Regions from separate parts of the Homo sapiens genome. Here regions 1 and 2 are each linked to region 3. Evidence: promoter capture Hi-C in 16 types of primary human blood cells and fetal thymus (Javierre and others, 2016). All regions are on one chromosome and are shown on one strand. Each heading gives the region's core, a stretch centred on a gene start or on the middle of the fragment in contact. The rest is flanking DNA. Distances are from core to core; before and after follow the strand shown. Region 1 overlaps TBC1D22B (TBC1 domain family member 22B). Region 2 overlaps TMEM217B (transmembrane protein 217B). Region 3 holds the start of PPIL1 (peptidylprolyl isomerase like 1).

The links. Contacts are between HindIII fragments. The CHiCAGO score rates a contact against its expected background, and 5 or more counts as called.
Region 1: a contact is called between a fragment that was not itself captured here and the fragment with the promoter of PPIL1 in region 3, in 1 of 17 cell types (total CD8 T cells). The highest score is 5.3, in total CD8 T cells.
Region 2: a contact is called between a fragment that was not itself captured here and the fragment with the promoter of PPIL1 in region 3, in 5 of 17 cell types (erythroblasts, activated CD4 T cells, naive CD4 T cells and 2 more). The highest score is 7.0, in erythroblasts.

What each region holds. Positions count from the first base shown.
Region 1 is chr6:37,260,570-37,263,269 of GRCh38, forward strand. All of the region lies in intron 1 of TBC1D22B (TBC1 domain family member 22B), which reads left to right. Among named protein-coding and RNA genes, the nearest start is that of TMEM217B, 3.8 kb to the left of the region's middle. The HindIII fragment of the contact is 192 bases long and covers 1,173-1,364 here.
Region 2 is chr6:37,237,312-37,240,051 of GRCh38, forward strand. All of the region lies in intron 1 of TMEM217B (transmembrane protein 217B), which reads right to left. All of the region lies in intron 1 of TMEM217 (transmembrane protein 217), which reads right to left. Among named protein-coding and RNA genes, the nearest start is that of TBC1D22B, 19 kb to the right of the region's middle. The HindIII fragment of the contact is 2,221 bases long and covers 245-2,465 here.
Region 3 is chr6:36,873,523-36,876,253 of GRCh38, forward strand. PPIL1 (peptidylprolyl isomerase like 1) reads right to left here and starts at 1,281. Exons shown (of 4, transcript NM_016059.5): 1 at 1,195-1,281. The coding sequence starts at 1,250. It also overlaps a transcript of C6orf89 not described here. RefSeq lists an enhancer at 1,272-1,501. The HindIII fragment of the contact is 9,401 bases long and covers 1-2,731 here.

The sequences.
Region 1 (2,700 bases), core at 19-2,518, 390 kb after region 3:
GCAACCATCACCACTAATTTCAGAACATTTTCATCATCCTGAAAAGAAACTACATACCTGTTTACAGTCACTCCCCATCCACCCCACTCCAGACCCTGGTAACTACTAACCTACTTTCTGTTTCTGTGGATTTACCACTTTTGGACATTTTATATATATGGAGTAATATGATCTGAGGCCTTTTGTGAGTGGCTTCTTTTATTAAGCACAGTGATTTCAGGCTTGTCCACGCTGTAGTATGTATCAGTACTTCATTCCATTTTATGGCTGAATAATATTCCATAGTATACATACACCACATTTTGTTCATTCATCAGTTGATGGATATTTGAATTGTTTTCACTTTTGGGCTATTGTACGTAATGCTTTTATGAACATTTATGCAGAGGTTTTTGTTTGGATATATATTTTCTATTCTTCTGCTGATAAATAGGAGTGGAATTGCTGGGTCATGTAGTAACTTGGTGGAACTAAGCATCTTTTAAGTTCTCTCAGTTATTCACATGAGCCCCATTTACTTAGCACATCAAATGGTCATTGTATTAATGCCTAGAAGATAAGAGGCAATCTCTACCATTGCAGGCTTTGGCAGGTGTGGTGGCCTGTAATCCCAGAATTTTGGAAGGCTGAGGCAGGTGGATCGCTTGAGGCCAGGAGTCCGAGACCAGCCTGGCCAACGTGGTGAAACCCCCCATCTCTACTAAAAATACAAATTAGCTGGGCTTGGTGGTGTGTGCCTGTAGTCCCAGCTACTCAGGAGGCTGATGCCCAAGAATCTCTTGAACCTGGGAGACGGAGGTTGCAGTGAACTGAGATTGCGTCACTCCACTCCAGCCTGGGCAACAGAGCAAGAGATTGTCTCCAAAAAAAAAAAAAAAAAAAAATGCAGGCTCTGAAATCTGACTGCCTAGGTTAAAATCCCAGCTCTGCTTTCTAGCTATGTGATCTTATGGGATTTAATTAACCTCTCAATGCATCAGTCTCCCCATCTCTAAAATAGGGACAGAGTATCTGCTCCATGGGGCTGTTATGAGGATTAAATGAGATAATACATAATAATTGGTTAGGAGGTACACAATAATATTAGCTATTATAAGAAGGATAGTTACGATGATAGTAGCTATCATTTTTGTTTTCTCTCCTTGCTTCAGTTTTTGAAACTGAAATTGAAAAGCTTTGATCTGGTTGGGTGTGGTGGCTCACACCTGTAATCCCAGCACTTTGGGAGGCTGAGACAGGTGGATCATTTGAGGTCAGGAGTTCGAGACCAGCCTGGCCAACATGGTGAATCTCCGTCTCTACTAAAAACACACAAAAAAATTATCTGGGCTTGGTGGCACAAACCTATGGGGGAAAAATAAAAAAGCTTTGGTCAGTGTGTGTGTGTGTGTGTGTGTGTGTGTGTGTGTGTGTGTGTGTGTGTGTGTCTAGAGCTCGGGCACAGGAGAAAAAAAAAATCACCTTTTTTTTTTTTTTTTTGAGATGGGGTCTCCCTCTGTTGCCCAGGCTGGAGTGCAGTGGCACGATCTCAGCTCACTGCAGCCTCTACCTCCCAGGATTAAACGAGTCTCCTGCCTCAGCCTCCTGAGTAGCTGGGATTACAGGCACATGCCACCATGCCCAGCTAATTTTTGTATTTTTAGTAGAGAAGGGGGTTTCGCCATGTTGGCCAGGCTGGTCTTGAACTCTTGACCTCAAGTGATCTCTTGACCTCAAGCCCACCTCAGCCTCCCAAAGTTCTGAGATTATAGGTGTGAGCCACCGTGCCCAGCCCTGGCTAATTTTTGTATTTTTTGTAGAGACAGGTCTTGCCATGTTGCCCAGGCTGGTCATGAACTCCTGGGCTCAAGCAGTCTGCCCACTTCATCCTCCAAAAGTGTTGGGATTACAGGCATGAGCCTCTGCGTCTGGCCAAAATCGAAATTACCTGAGTCTTCCAGGCCCTTCGTTGTTAGAAAGAGAGGCCAAGTTAAGAACTTGAAGCCGATCCTAAAATAATAATGAATCTGATAGGAGACTTAGTGTAAAAGTCACAGCCTGTCTGGGCAGGTACATTACAACTTGTTCTTGGCTTGGAGATGTTTTACTGGTAGAGTGAGTGACTAGAAGATACTAAATTATCATCGAAACAGCATAGATCACCTGTTCTGGAAGACTAATGTGGAGTGAGTGTGTGAACCTACATCAGTTGCCAACACGTTTGGCATTTAAATTTGATGGGTCTTTTTCCCATATTTGCACTAGCTCTTTTATCAGTGCTAAACAAACACCTGTTGATTTTTCCTACCAAGATGTTTGCACTGTTTCAACTAGGCAAAACAGCTATGTCAATACATTCTATGGTGTTGGTTTTATTAAAGAGAGTGACGGAGATTAATCAGAACTTTTGTTCCATTTTGTCTGCGTGGCAGCATATTCCATGGCATTCTTTTCTCTGCATATGTGGTGTGATTTCTTCGAGATGCAGTGTGTTAACTAACCTCTGGTTTTTAGGTCTAGCTTAAGTGGAGGCCTAGGTTTTGTAGAGATCTAATCTTCACTTACTAAATATTGTTAAGTGCCTGCTGGTATGTGTCATGCTCTGCCAGGTGGCAAGGGGGCTACAGAAAAAGATATGGCACCACTATGGCTTTCTAGGAGCTAAAAAATCTGCTTGGCATCATGGCTTCCCCTGGAGAAGATGCTGTGTATGATTGACTT
Region 2 (2,740 bases), core at 105-2,604, 360 kb after region 3:
TCTGCCTCCCTCAGTCCTGCAACATTCCTCCTTGCTGAAATGAAGGGCTCTCTGTGTGCACCAAGACCCCATCAAGTCAAAATCTTTATTGGTCAGCCTCTCTCTGGTAGCCCACTGTAAATATCTGACAACACACAACACAAGGCAAGTCGTTTGCAAGAAATTATTGCAAGTCTTGCAGAAGATTCAGGACTTCATGCAGACATTAAAAAGGATATTGGAAAACTGCTAGAATCATATGCAAAGCTTGAATGTAACAGAATTAGACCAGTTAATAACCAGAAAAGAGAAAATCAATAAGAATGTTATAGGCACTTCAGTAAAGAATGGTTTCAGGATGAATAAACTGCTACATATTTGCACAATGGGAGTGTTAAACAGGAGTCAAAAGGAACAACTGTAGCAACATACAACAATATGGTAGAATCTTAACAATGTAATATCAAGTGAAAAAAGTACTAAAGACATACAGTTAAAAACAACCATCTTTCTCTATATATATACACACACACTACACACACATATTTTTAGGACTTTATATAGATGCAAGAAAACTCTAAAACTGTATGAAAAGCAAAGTGAAGGATAATGAGCTCAGAATTCTGGATGATGATCACCTTGGCCAGGGGAGGAAGTAAAATGTGTTGGGGGTACCATACAGCCAGATGCAAATTGCTGACCAGACACTAATTTTATTTTGGACAGGGGATTTGAAGGTGTCTATATATTATTTACAATAACTAATATTTAAAAAGTAAACAAAAGAGAGCCATGCATGGACCAATGAGGGTATGTCATGAACCAGGGATTATGATCAATCTAATTGTATGTATATAAAGTAGAATTAAAAACACTGAAAAAAAAAAACCAAGGATAGTAACATTTACCTCACAAAATTGCTGTGAAGATTAAATGAGTTAACATATTTAAAACATTCAGAACAGTTCCTGGCACATAGTAAGCACTTACACAATATAATTATGTAAGTATTTTTGTTATCATTATTTTTACTTTATGCCAAGGAGTAGCTACTATTTATTATGCATATAAAACTACTATTTATTAAGCTGTGTTGTAGCAGACACCGTTAGCTTCCTTCCCAATACCTATTTCCACCTTCTTTGCTACCAGAAGTCTGCTTTCTCTCAGGATGGCAATGAGCCCAGACCCAGGCAAAATATGTGCTTTTCCAGGTTTTTGCTTGTATCCAGGGTGTTCATGGCACACAGTTCTAGCAAATGACATATAAGCAGAAACCTGCTGGAAGATCTAGGAAGACTTTTGCCTTTCCTGGTAAGAGAAGATGATGTGGCTGGCACCATTCTCACTTCTTCCTTTTTCTTGCCTTGAATGTGGTGTGATGCCTGCAGCCTCAGCAGCTATTTTGTTACTGAAGCAACAAGCATGAAGACAAAAACAAGTAGGCTAAGGATGCCAACATGAAAGGGAGAGACTTACTTTTTACATTTTATTGGTTACTCTTGAGGTTGAGTATTCTTCTAAGTATTGATATATGATTTTAAAAAATCTATGTCTAGGCTGGGCATGGTGGCTCACGCCTGTAATCCCAGCAGTTTAGGAGGCCAAGGCAGGCAGATCACCTGAAGTCAGGAGTTCAAGACCAGCCAGCCAACAGGGTGAAACCCTGTCTCTACTAAAAATACAAAAATTAGCCAGGCATGTTGGCACATGCCTGTAATCCCAGCTACTAGGGAGGCTGAGGCATGAGAATCACTTGAACCTAAGAGGTGGAGAGGTTGCAGTGAGCCGAGATCATGCCACTGCACTCCAGCCTGGGTGACACAGACTCTGTCTCCAAAACAAAAACAAAAGCCGTATGTCTAAATAAGTATTAAAAATTATTTTGATAAGCATACAATAAAAATTCAGTCATGGGCTGGGCACAGTGGCTCATGCCTATAATTCCAGCAGTTTGGGAGGCCAAGGTGGGCATATCACTTGAGCCCAGGAGTTTGAGACTAGCCTGGGCAAGATGGCAAAAACCCATCTCTACAAAACATACAAAAATTAGCTGGGCTTGGTGGCCACGCCTGTAGTCCCAGCTACTTGGGAGGACTGCTTGAGCCCAGGAGGCCGAGGCTGCAGTGAACCATGATCGTGCCACTGAACTCCAGTCTGGGTGACAGAGCAAGACTCTGTCTTAAAAAATAAATAAATAAATAAATAAATAAATAAGTAAATAAAATTCTAAGATATGAGAAAGCATTGAAGCATAGTGTAATTAATGATATTTGTATTTCAGTGGTACCTAAGATAATGATGCATTTTGCAGTTGACGGCACCTTAGATTTACTCAATCATGGTAAGAACTTTTTATTTTCAATTGCTCTCATCAAGTTGACTTGTGATCTCAGTAGAATATGTTGCTGCCAACTCATTTCAGATGGATCTCTTGCAACACTGGGTTAGGGAGGAAAATAACAATGACAACGAACACATTATAAAGCTTTAGAGCCTAATTCATCTATATCGGTTAAGATCCTCCCCTTAAATAGGAGGATCACTTAAGCCCAGGGGTTTCAGACCAGCCTGGGCAACATGGTGAGACCCCAGCTCATTAAAAAAAAAAAAAAAGAAGAATGCATTTGGCTGCAAGGAACAGAGACTCAAACAATAGTAGTTTAAACAACTAGAAATTTATTTTCTTCTTCTAACAGGAAATCTGGCAGTGGCAGCCTAGCACTTGGTCAGTAGCCTCTGGGTAATGTGTCTGGGTGGC
Region 3 (2,731 bases), core at 31-2,530:
TGTTGATGGTGTTTTCAGGAAGGAGGTGACTTTCACTTCTTACTCTGTATGTCTACATTGCTTGGATTTAACAATTTATTTTGTAACTTTAAAAAATACCAACAGGAGAATTCAGAAATTACAGGTTGGAGCCTGAAGATGTAGAATTTTGCCATATAAGGTGGGGAAGATGGCCAGGGAGCATGAAATGAACAGCATGAGCAAATAGAGAGAGGACTGACAGAACTCTGCTTTAGCTGAAAGCAGCAATGGGCAAGAACAGAAAGGCAGAGGACCTTGGCTGGTCCCTGGCTGTTGAGGGGAGAATGGCAGGTAGACAAGGGCCAGATGAAAAAAATCACCTTGAATGTCAGGATTAATACGTTTTTACTTTATACTGTTATAGCAGCAAGACGTTATTAAAGGTTTTTTGAGCAGGATCCCTTCCTTGTCCTACTTTGTAAAGATCACTTTGAGCTTTTTCCAAAGAGGCAATGGAATGAATAGAGCTAAAGGATCTAGCAAGGTGAGACGAGCACACCAGGCTCCAAACGAGGTTCTTCCAGTTACTAGCTGTGTGGCTTTGGTCAAGGCTTTAAGCTGTAAATTCCGGCGTTTCCTCCTGCTAATATTGAAAGGGAGAAAGTTAAATAATACCTTCATGATTTGAGTTGCTAAGATTAAACTAAATGAGATGACATACAGCGGGGCATGGCGCCAGCAGGTTGGTTACCACATCACTCTTTGATAGTGGGGAAAATGTGCTTCTTCCTGTATTTTACTGGAATTTGTTTCTACAACTGTATTACTTATCACGTAATGTTTACATGTCTGTCTCTTTCATTATACCGTAAGCTCCTAAAGGCAGGGCTGTCTGTGTTTTATCTACCTCTGTATCCTCAGAACTCATATTCCATATGCCTGGCTTGCGGACTCATTACACGTTTGTTGAATGAATGAATGAATGAATGAGCGGACTGGGGGAAGGAGGACAATCAGGCAGCTATTGCTGAGACCTCAGCACAAGACCCCGCGGAGCTTGGACGCGGGCGATGGCGGTCCCCTCTCAACCCTCTGGGGGCCGTCTCGGCCGCTGCTCCACGCCCCTCCACGTGGAGGCCGGCCTCCCGGAGGAACGCGCCAGGAACGCAGACCCGTGGTGAGGCCCGGGCTCCGCGTCTCCTCTGCCAGCCCCAGACGCCCGAACCCCCTCACCTGGTCTCCAAGTAAACGTTGGGTGGCTGCCAGGAATCTGGGGGAATTGCCGCCATAGCGAAGCCGGCGGCGGAATGCTTGTCTAGTAATTGCTACTTCCGGCGTCGATTAGCTGGGGACCCGTCGCTGCTGCACACTTCCGGTCCGTTCAACCCTTTCGATACCAGGATTTGGGTGGCCAAGACAAGGAAGAGGACGGTCCCTTCTTCCAATGCCGGGAAGCTGGGGTGGGAGACGAGAAGAAGCTGGGCTCAAGAACAGAGGAAAATGCAAACTTCATTCGCGGTGGTCTCCAAGTGGCGATACCGCGCCACTCTGGGCGATCTGATTGGTTCGTTTAGGCATGGAAGGCGGGAACAACCAGAAAAGCTGCGCTCTGGTTGGAGTTATGTCCTAATATTAAATTCGAAGAATTTCTTAGTCTCACAATTGGGCAGGGACGGGAAGGGGAGGCAGAGAATGAAAGAGGGTAGTTTAGAGATGCCAGTAAAGAATTTTTGTAAGGCGCTGTACGATGTACACAGTGCTTGCACTTTCTTATCTCATCTACTCCACAAAACAATTCTATAAGTAGATAGTATTATTACCATTTTTCAGATCTGAAAATAGACTCGGCAGTTAATACTTGTTTTTCCATAGTCATAAAGCAAATCTGAGCCTGCAGAATCCAAAGACGAGGAGTCTGAGGAGAAAAGAGAGGGAAGGGGCAGGAAGAAAATAGGAGATAAAGAAAGGAAGAGACAGGAGAAAACAGGACAAACGGATCAGAGCAAGAACAAGGCTTAACATTGGCTGGGATAGATGGTACCTGAAAGTTGTTAGGAGGGTTTGCGCAGGGCGCGAGGAACAGAAGCAAATTAGAGGAGCTATAATGTTTGGAGGGAGGACAAAAATGAAATAGAGTACCTAAACTTAACGCTGTAAATGCTTTGCACACCACTTAATAATGATGGTTGAATGTTTACCATGTGCCAGGCATCAAGCTAAGCATTTTATTGCGTATTTTCACGCTTAATCTTCAAAATCCCACAAGGTAGATATTACTATTCCCATTTTACTTTGAGGAAGCTGAGCCTTACAGATTAAATAACTTGCTTAAAGTACTACAGCTGGTGCACTTGTGCTCTTAACGACAGTTCAACTGTAATGTCCCTAATTGTCAACAAGGAATAAGGATGTACAAGGTTGTAAAGATAAACTAGACAGCTCCTTGAGAGAGGAGCTGGGCCTCCTTCATCTTTGTGCTCTTCTTGCACAGTACAGAGCACAGGGTGCTCAGCTTTGCTGAATGAATAATGAACGGAACACTACATTTTAAACTGATAAATGCTAAAGTATAATTTTTACACCTCCTGCAGTTTCAAGTTCATGCCCACCTTGTGGCCCTTGAGCTGGATGAAAAAGTCTTAATCCTTGGTCTGTTTAGTCTGTTGTTAAGTTGCCTTTCTCTGGACTTTATGTAGTTCTTTACTGTGTATCTCGGGAGTCATGTGCCATTCCCAGGCTCCAATGTCTGAATATTGAAAAGCCACCCCCA